2 separate regions of the Homo sapiens genome follow, and region 2 is linked to region 1. Evidence: promoter capture Hi-C in human tissues and cell types (Jung and others, 2019). All regions are on one chromosome and are shown on one strand. Each heading gives the region's core, a stretch centred on a gene start or on the middle of the fragment in contact. The rest is flanking DNA. Distances are from core to core; before and after follow the strand shown.

Evidence for each region. The method cuts DNA at HindIII sites, captures the fragments that hold promoters and counts their contacts. A contact is called where the count stands out against the background at its distance.
Region 2: a contact is called between a fragment that was not itself captured here and the fragment with the promoter of WFDC3 in region 1, in 1 of the 25 tissues and cell types used here (hippocampus).

The regions. Positions count from the first base shown.
Region 1 is chr20:45,789,087-45,793,476 of GRCh38, forward strand. It overlaps WFDC3 (WAP four-disulfide core domain 3), which reads right to left and starts at 2,797. Exons shown (of 7, transcript NM_080614.2): 1 at 2,746-2,797; 2 at 808-896. The coding sequence starts at 889. It overlaps DNTTIP1 (deoxynucleotidyltransferase terminal interacting protein 1), which reads left to right and starts at 2,868. Exons shown (of 13, transcript NM_052951.3): 1 at 2,868-3,023; 2 at 3,591-3,661. The coding sequence starts at 2,919. RefSeq lists silencers at 2,951-3,220, 3,431-3,570. The HindIII fragment of the contact is 18,270 bases long and covers 1-4,390 here.
Region 2 is chr20:44,971,995-44,976,384 of GRCh38, forward strand. It overlaps STK4 (serine/threonine kinase 4), which reads left to right. Exons shown (of 11, transcript NM_006282.5): 2 at 84-164. Among named protein-coding and RNA genes, the nearest start is that of STK4, 7.7 kb to the left of the region's middle. The HindIII fragment of the contact is 3,126 bases long and covers 1,013-4,138 here.

The DNA.
Region 1 (4,390 bases), core at 1,547-4,046:
GTAACTAGCCAGGCCTCAGAAATGGGGAATGGACCTTCAGCCCCTCCAGGCATCTCTATCCAAAATATTTCTGCACCACTGCACTCTAGCCTGGGTGACAGAATGAGACCCTGTCTCTTAAAAAAAAAAAAAAATTCTGGCTGGGCACGATAGCTCATGCCTGTAATCCCAGCACTTTGGGAGGCCGAGGCGGGCGGATCATGAGGTCAGGAGATCGAGATCATCCTGGCTAACACAGTGAAACCCCATCTCTACTAAAAATACAAAAAATTAGCTGGGCGTGGCGGCGGGCACCTGTAGTCCCAGCTACTCGGGAGGCTGAGGCAGGAGAATGGCGTGAACCTGGGAGGTGGAGTTTGCAGTGAGCTGAGATCACGCCACTGCACTCCAGCCTGGGTGACAGAGTGAGACTCCATCTCAAAAAAAAAAAAAAAATTCTGCAACCACCTTCCCCTCCTCATACACAAATACTAACATATATCCACCACTGCTAAAGGAGCAGCCATCCTGCAGATAACGAGAGAGAAAGGGTGGGATGATCCTGTTCTCATTTAATGAGTTCTAGGGAAAAGCTAGAACCTCTAGTAAGCCCAACTGGAAGTCCTATCTCCTTGTCCAGAGAGGGTAAAGAAAGCCAGGAAGAATGACCCAGGCCATCCTGAGAATCTATTCATCCAGTCCTGTCCTATAGAGATGATCATCTCCACTTACAAGCAACCTTGCTCTGGGAGAAGGCAGGGGATGAGTTCTCCTCTCCTCTAGTCACTTTCTGTTACTGTTGGCCAGGGATCCCAAATGATAGCTCACCATGTTCTCCTGCAGTTATCCAGGATTCCAGAGACCCAAGAGCAAGAAGTGCCTTCAGAAGAAAGAGGCAGCTTAACATCATGATGATGCTGAGAGTTGGGACAAGAGCTCAGTTCAGGCTAGAGGTGTACACCTTGCCCAGAGTATCAGCTGAGGTATGAGCAGGACTAGGGATGGCCCCAAACCCAGTCCCAAAACCTTCCCTTTCACAATACTCCCCAAGAATATCTTCTCCTGACAAGAAGAAGAGGGATTGGCTGCTGGAGTGTGGGAAAATTCCTGGCACTACCAAAGGGGACCTGTGATGGGAGGATCAAATTCTGTAAGCAATATACACAATATTCCTGGATGATGAGAAACCTAGTGGGTGGCTGGAAAAATGGAGGGGTGGCCATTGGAAAAAGAATCAAAGAGAGCCCTAAAGGGCATTGGAAGGACATGGCTTTAGCCCAAATAACAGAGGGAGGGATTCACGACACTACTTAATGGCCAAAGCTAATAACATAACCAAGCATAATAAAATTGTGGCTCCTGTTCATCCTAGCAACCAAGAAAATACAGAATGGAACAGACCACTCAGAAACTATCAAATAGGCCAAGGCGGGCAGATCACCTGAGGTCAGGAGTTTGAGACCAGCCTGGCCAACATGGCGAAACCCTGTCTCTACTAAAAATACAAAAATCAGCTGGGCATGCTGGTGCATGCCTGTAATCCCAGCTACGTGGGAGGCTGAGGCAGGAGAATAGCTTGAACCCAGGAGGCAGAGGTTGCAGTGAGTGGAGATCATGCCACTGCACTCCAGCTTGGGTAACAGAGTGAGACTCTGTCTCAAAAAAAAAAAAAAGAGAGAAAAGAAACTATCAAAAACCTACAGAAAAGCAGTAGTTGAGTTTGTTAAGAACTAATGAAAAGCACCAAACACCTACATCTTTGTCCCTCTAACCCACACAGGCCATTCTTGGACTGTATGAAGTCTAGCTGGCAGAACCCAAGAGAAGTTGCTATGTATGACTCAAATAGTCTGCCCACATATACCTCCTTTATTTCTTTTTTCTCCATTTCTTTTTTTCTTTATCTGTCCTGGTCATGCCTTTGGTTAGCTGTGATACCTAATGGTGTCCACTGGCACTGCTTAGTCCTATGGGCAGGTACAAGGTAAAACCTCCTTAATAGGATCAAAAAGTTTGGAGCCAGGAAGTCGCCCTTATGGTTAGAAGGCTGATGTTGGCTCATGGAGATAATTAACATTTGATGATGACCTCATATGTGCCTAATATGCTTTTTTTTTTTTTTTTTTTTTTTTTTTTGAGACAGAGTCTCCCTCTGTCCCCCAGGCTGGAATGCAGTGGCGCGATCTCGGCATAATTAACATTTGATGATGACCTAACATGTGCCTAATGTGCTTTTTTTTTTTTTTTTTTTGAGACAGTCTCCCTCTGTCGCCCAGGCTGGAGTGCAGTGGCGTGATCTCGGCTCACTGCAACCTCCGCCTCCTGGGTTCAAGAGACTCTCCTGCCTCAGCCTCCCGAGTAGCTGGGATTACAGGTGCCCACCACCACGCCCGGCTAATTTTTATATTTTTAGTAGAGACGGGGTTTCGCCATGTTGGCCAGGCTGGTCTCGAACTCCTGATGGCAAGTGATCCTCCCGCCTCGGCCTCCCAAAGTGCTGGGATTACAGGCGTGAGCCACCGCCCCTGGCCGAGCATATTAAAATCTAGTTTTCAAAAACTGAACTGCAGGCGCCGCTGTACCAAACGCTTCCCTCTGCTCCCCAACCCCAGCCTACAGAAAACTGGTCCCTTCCTCCTACCCCGCAGTCATCCCCAGGCCTTGGCCCAGCGGGAAACATCCCTTGACTGAACCGCCACTGAACACCCACACTGCACAATCGAGGCGCAGCCCTCCCGAGAGGAAGCCCCAACGACCTCCACCTACAAGGCCTCTAAGTGTAACTGTCCTGGGCGAGGCGCGGCGGTTCGGTTCCCATGGTAACCCCGCAGCTCCAGCGTCGCGCTTCCGGGCGGACGAGCAGCGCGCTCCAGTGACGTCACGGCGCCACTTTCCGGCCGGTGACAGAGTCCAGCGGAGTTGTGGGGGCCGGGGGCGCCATGGGAGCCACTGGCGACGCCGAGCAGCCGCGGGGACCTAGCGGGGCCGAGAGGGGCGGCTTGGAGCTGGGGGATGCGGGCGCAGCGGGGCAGCTGGTTCTTACGGTGAGGGCGCCCCCGGTGAGGTCTGGGCTCAGGCCGGGCACGGCCTCGGGGCTCCTGGGACCCTGGCCCGCGGGCGAGAGAACGCGGAGGCTGGAGCTGCAGAGGGGGTTGGCGTTTTCGCAGCCCGACGACCTGGATTTAAATTCTGGTGCCGCCCTCCTAGCTAGGTGACGTGGGCCATCTCTGTCAACCCCCTGAGTCCCAGGATCCTCTTCTATAAAATGGAAATGATTAGTACCTGTCTCATAAAACTTGTTGTGGGATGGGAAGATAAAGGCGGGTACAACGCCCCGGACATCACCTGACACAGAGTTGACCCTCGGTAAATACTGCTTCCCTTCCTCCTGCCGTGCCAGAAGGCAGGGTCGGGACTTTTAAGGCAGGAAACTTCCTCAGTTCCTCTTTTGTGGAGGAGGCCTTACAACTATCGTCCCACCCCAAGGCGGGAGAGATGGTGACGGATCTGAGAAGCAGGGATGTCCAGGTTTAACTTCATACCCACCCTCCACCTCCACCCCACCCCAGTGTCACAGGCCGCAGTGACATTTGTTCCGTTGGTCCCCACAGAACCCTTGGAACATAATGATAAAGCACCGGCAGGTGCAGCGGAGGGGCCGCCGCTCACAGATGACAACAAGGTAAGGCTGGCCCTGCATGGGGCTTATATCCCAGCCACTGGCTTGCATGGCAGATTTGGGATCCCCAGTGCACAAGGCTATGGAGATCTACAGCCGGTAGAAAGAGCACAGGACTGAGGAAGAGGAGACTCCGATTCTGTAACTCTGTGTGATCTTGAACTAGTCAAGTCACTTCCTTCTCTGAACTCACGTACAAAATGGGGAAGGGCACAGGAGATGGGTTGTGGAATAAACAATACCTAAGATCCCTCACATTCACTGGCTCTGTGGTTGAGGGCTCTAAAGAGGTCAGTTAGCATGGAGTTTAAGAGAACAGGCTCTGGAGTCAGACAACTGTGTTCTCATCAACAGACTCTGATGAGCCCGTTTTCTCAACTATAAAGAGGGATTAATAGTATGCATGTCAGGGAAGGGAGAGAGCACAAGGTGGGCCTTTGGGATGCTGATAGTGGTGAAATGGATGTTCACTATAATTACTCATTAAAGTGTATAGACTTTTCTGTATAAGTATTATATTTCATAAAAACACTTTGGGCCGGGCGCGGTGGCTCACGCCTGTAATCCCAGCACTTTGGGAGGCTGAGGTGGGTGGATCACCTGAGGTCGGGACTTCCAGAACAGCCTGACCAACATGGAGAAACCCCGTCTCTACTAAAAATAACAAAAAATTGGCCGGGCGCGGTGGCTCACGCCTGTAATCCCAGCACTTTGGGAGTCTGAGGCGGGCAG
Region 2 (4,390 bases), core at 1,326-3,825, 820 kb before region 1:
CTAATTATAAAAAAAAGATATATTTTATGTTCTAGTTCCTAGCAAATAAAATGTATTTTGTGTTTATATTTCTTTATTCACAGGCAGCTGAAAAAGTTGGATGAAGATAGTTTAACCAAACAACCAGAAGAAGTATTTGATGTCTTAGAGAAACTTGGAGAAGGGTGAGTGTAAAGAAACTATAGGTAGGTCATTGGGTCCCAGTCTTTTTCCTGCCCCAGAAGAAGCAGAAGGATATGAACCTTTCAGCATTGTTCTAGGTGGGGTGGAAGGTAAATTTACAGCTTGTGATGTCCTTCTTCGCTTTACTCCAATCCCTATTATAGACAGATTTAGTGATTCCTGGTCTTTTTAACACGAAGAATATCTATTGTTTTCTCTTTTGTAGGATCTGTATGATTTTATCTACTTAACAGATAGCACTAATTAGATTAAAATTCTATAAGAAACTTTTTAATTTGCTGTTCATAATTTCTGATTGGTATGCAATAACTGTTTCAATGAAAATCAATGTAATTTAGTATTTTAATATTTGCACCTTTGTGAAATATAGTAAATAAATTAAGCACTATCACCACCTTCACAGCTACTTAGGAGATCCACAATCCTGGGTTGGGAGCCAGTGGATTTCCTGAAACACAGATTTGTTAATGCGTTTATAAAATACTGATGAAATGATATTAGTAATGTGCAGTGACCATCATTGACTTTCATGATACAATTAAGTTTACATAATTTTTATACTTTTATATATCATTTTAATTCAATCCTGTGTATTTATTCCTTCTTCTGTAATGACCAGGAAATTAAAATGTTAATGACACCATTTCTTAAGTTTTTCTTGTTAATTTTTGAATAGGCGATACAATCATATGATTCAAAATTTAAAAAAATATTAAGACGCATACAATAAAAAAAAAAAAAAACTGCCTCCTACCTCTCTCTGTCTCTTAGCCACCCAGAATCACCAAGGGTAGCGGCTTCTTGTGTGTCTTTCAGAGACAGGCTATGTGTGTGCGAGCGCACACTCGTGTTTGTGTGTGTGTGTGTCTGTATTTTTAATCCCTTGGGAGTATTTCTGGATCAAGGGAAGACCTGACATACTAACTTGTAAAAACAACTACTGACTGATGACTATATGCTCTTTAAAATAATTTCCTTTATGTCATTAGATTATTTTTTGGGTTTAGTATTTTTTATGTTAGGAGACAGATTTACAACGTTAAACCCAATCCTGGATTACATGAAATGGTTTTTTTATGATTTACCTCCTTGTAAAAAACATGAGTCATCGTCTTTTTGTAAGTTGGAAAAATACTCTTTGGAATCCAGCAAGAAATCAAGCAGAGAAGGGAAGTAAAAATGACACACCAGCTGTGCTGTGAAAAGACAAGTCCAAGATGAATCTGAAGACTGCCAGTTGACTGGCATCATTAAAGGTATGGGGAAATGACAGTCCCTCTACATCTGTTGCCTGCCATTTTCAGCTTTAGCTTGCCATCCTTGCTATTTTCCCTAAGGCAGCAAGGCTGTGACCTTTAATCTAACAATGCTCATAAGTTATACTTAGAATAAGTTCAAGACTGATAGGCATAATTGACTATGTAACTTATTTCTCTCATTTCTAATACAGTTTGCTCTTACTACTACAATGTGAGGCTGACCTGGGTTAAAATCCTTGCTCTACTGTTTACTGGTCATAATAGACAAGTGGGCTTAAGCAAATTGCTTACTATTTTGGAGGCTCACAATCCTCATCTGTAAAGTTGGGATAATAATATATCAATTCATAGAGTTGTGTTATTACCTGAGGTAATTGGGGTAAAGTATAGTGCTTATCACAATAATAAATGTTCAGTAAGTGGCAACTATTGCTATTCTATTTTAAATGTATCAACTGAAGCATTTTCAAGACCTCATCATGTCAAGTCTTAAAGTATTTTTAGGTGTTGTTATAGGTAGCTCTGAGCTGATTGGGTTTGTGGAATGTCAAAGGAAGACTATAGACAGAGAATATATCAGAAATATAATGTAAACAAAAAATAAGCTAATTATGATTTTTTAAATTGTATTTTATTTATTTGTTTGTTTATTTATTTTTGTAGAGACGAGGTCTCACTGTGTTGCCCAGGCTGGTCTTGAACTCTTGGCCTTAAGTGATCCTCCTGCCTCAGCCTCCCAAAGTGCTAGGATTAGAGACGTGAACCACTGCACCTGGACAAATTGCGTTTTAGATCTATGGATGTCTTCTGCAAGGAATGTGGAAATTTCCCTATGAAGATATCACCAGGGAGAAAACAAAGCTTCAGATCTTTCTTCCCATACTATCACCTTATTGTTCTTCTAAATAATACCAGATTTCTGGTATTTCTTGGATTTCTGTTATTCTGACTGAATGAACCTAAGCAAGCCTCATTTAACTAGGAATATTTTGAAGGAAGACCTTCACTGCACTTCTTTTCCAAACATGTGACACAATGCTATTCTTTTTTTTTGAGATTAAGTCTTGCTCTGTCACCAGGCTGGAGTGCAATGTCACAATCTCGGCTCACTGCAACCTCCGCCTCCCAGGTTCAAGCGATTCCCCTGCCTCAGCCTCCTGAGTAGCTGGGACTATAGGCACACACCACCACGCCCGACTTATTTTTTGTATTTTAGTAGAGATGGGGTTTCACCATATTGGCCAGGATGGTCTTGATCTCGTGATCTTGTGATCTGCCTGCCTCAGCCTCCCAAATTGCTGGAATTACAGATGTGAGCCACCACGCCTGGCCAATGCTATTCTTAAATTGTTCGGGAGGATGAATGGTTTGTGAACTCTCACTGACTTGTATCTTGTGAAATGAGCTATGGCTAAAAAAACTGTTGGATTCTGGAGGCTGCAATCATTCTGTGTTATGAGGATCATATGGATCTGTGGCAGAGTAGAGCCAAAGCTCCAGACCAGGATGAGTGGAGAGCACTTGGGAAGTGTTTTCAAGTGGAGCCTAGCACCTTTTTTCTTCTACTTAAAGTTGTACACATTGACTCATTTGAATTTTTATCATAGAATGATAACAAAAGCATCTTGCCCATGGTTTCATAAAAAATGAGTGCTATTGTTAAGACTTGTATCTGATTAATTTGGCCTCAGATACTGTGGTATTTCCATTTTTCTACATAGATCCTTGCCTTGCATGGCTTATGTAAAACACCTACTTCTCCATTCTCTGCTGTCAGTTGTAATTCATTGAATCATCTCATTTTGTTGTAGGGAATCAAGTTTTAAGGGACTTGCTTGTGAGTATGATTGCTGAAATCTTCTAACCACCCCCTATCCCTGCCTTCAGATTACTGTAGATGCAGTATATGGAATCAGGAATCTTAACTTCATGTGAGCTATTGGAGTTTTCCTTGCTATCAGGATGCATAGGGAGGTATGAAGAGTGTTCTGGTCAAGATTGCTGAGTGAGTGTATGAAGAGAACTTTCTAATATATAAGAATAATGAGTGAAAATTATTTTAAATATAAGGATATATAGACAGCTATGGACAAGGGATAGGAAAGAAATCTAAATAATCAGCGGAGACTAAAGCATGCCTTATCCTTGTCAGGAGATTGCATTTGAGCTTCCTGCATGAAGTTGGGGGCTGGAACTCGGCTCTCCATCTGTGAACTAAAGCTGAAATAAATTTGCCTGACCACAACCAGAAAGTGTCATTTGCCTGTGGCCTAGGGAAAAAATGGATATACTGGTTCGATAATAGGAACTGAGCTTGGATTGTATTTAAGTATGGTATCTTGAAGGGCAAAAACCCCAAACTCTGAATATAAGACCTGGTTTAAGTTGTATATCCCAGACTACTGTACTGAGAAAACCATGAAATCATCGACAGTGAGTGTGGTATAGAGGAAAATCATTCAAGAGAAAATGAAATCCATGCAAGGAAATCTACTGCCATGAGATAATCAGCAGAATGGGAGAATTCACACTGAAGGAAAAAGAAATAATGAAGCAATCTCAAAAACAATTTAATATAATTACAATTTTCAAAAAGATCAAGGAGGAGATAACATTTTTAAAAGGACATCAGATTATTGACATGATTATTAACATATTTGCCCAAAGGCAGATAAAAAGTTGGGAATCTTGACAATGAAAACTACAACAATTGAAGTTTTAAAAGCCCAATAAATTGGATAAACAGTAAACTAGACAAACTGAAAGGAGAATTTGTGAATTGAAAGATAGAAATGAGACTGATCACAACATGCAGAAATACAGTGTTGGAAACCAGGAAGACAACATAGATTGAGGAGGTCTAATACAGTTTTGGTAGGAATTCTAAAAGAAGATCCTAGAAGTGGTAGAGGAAATAATCACATAATAATCCTGAGAGTTTTTCATTC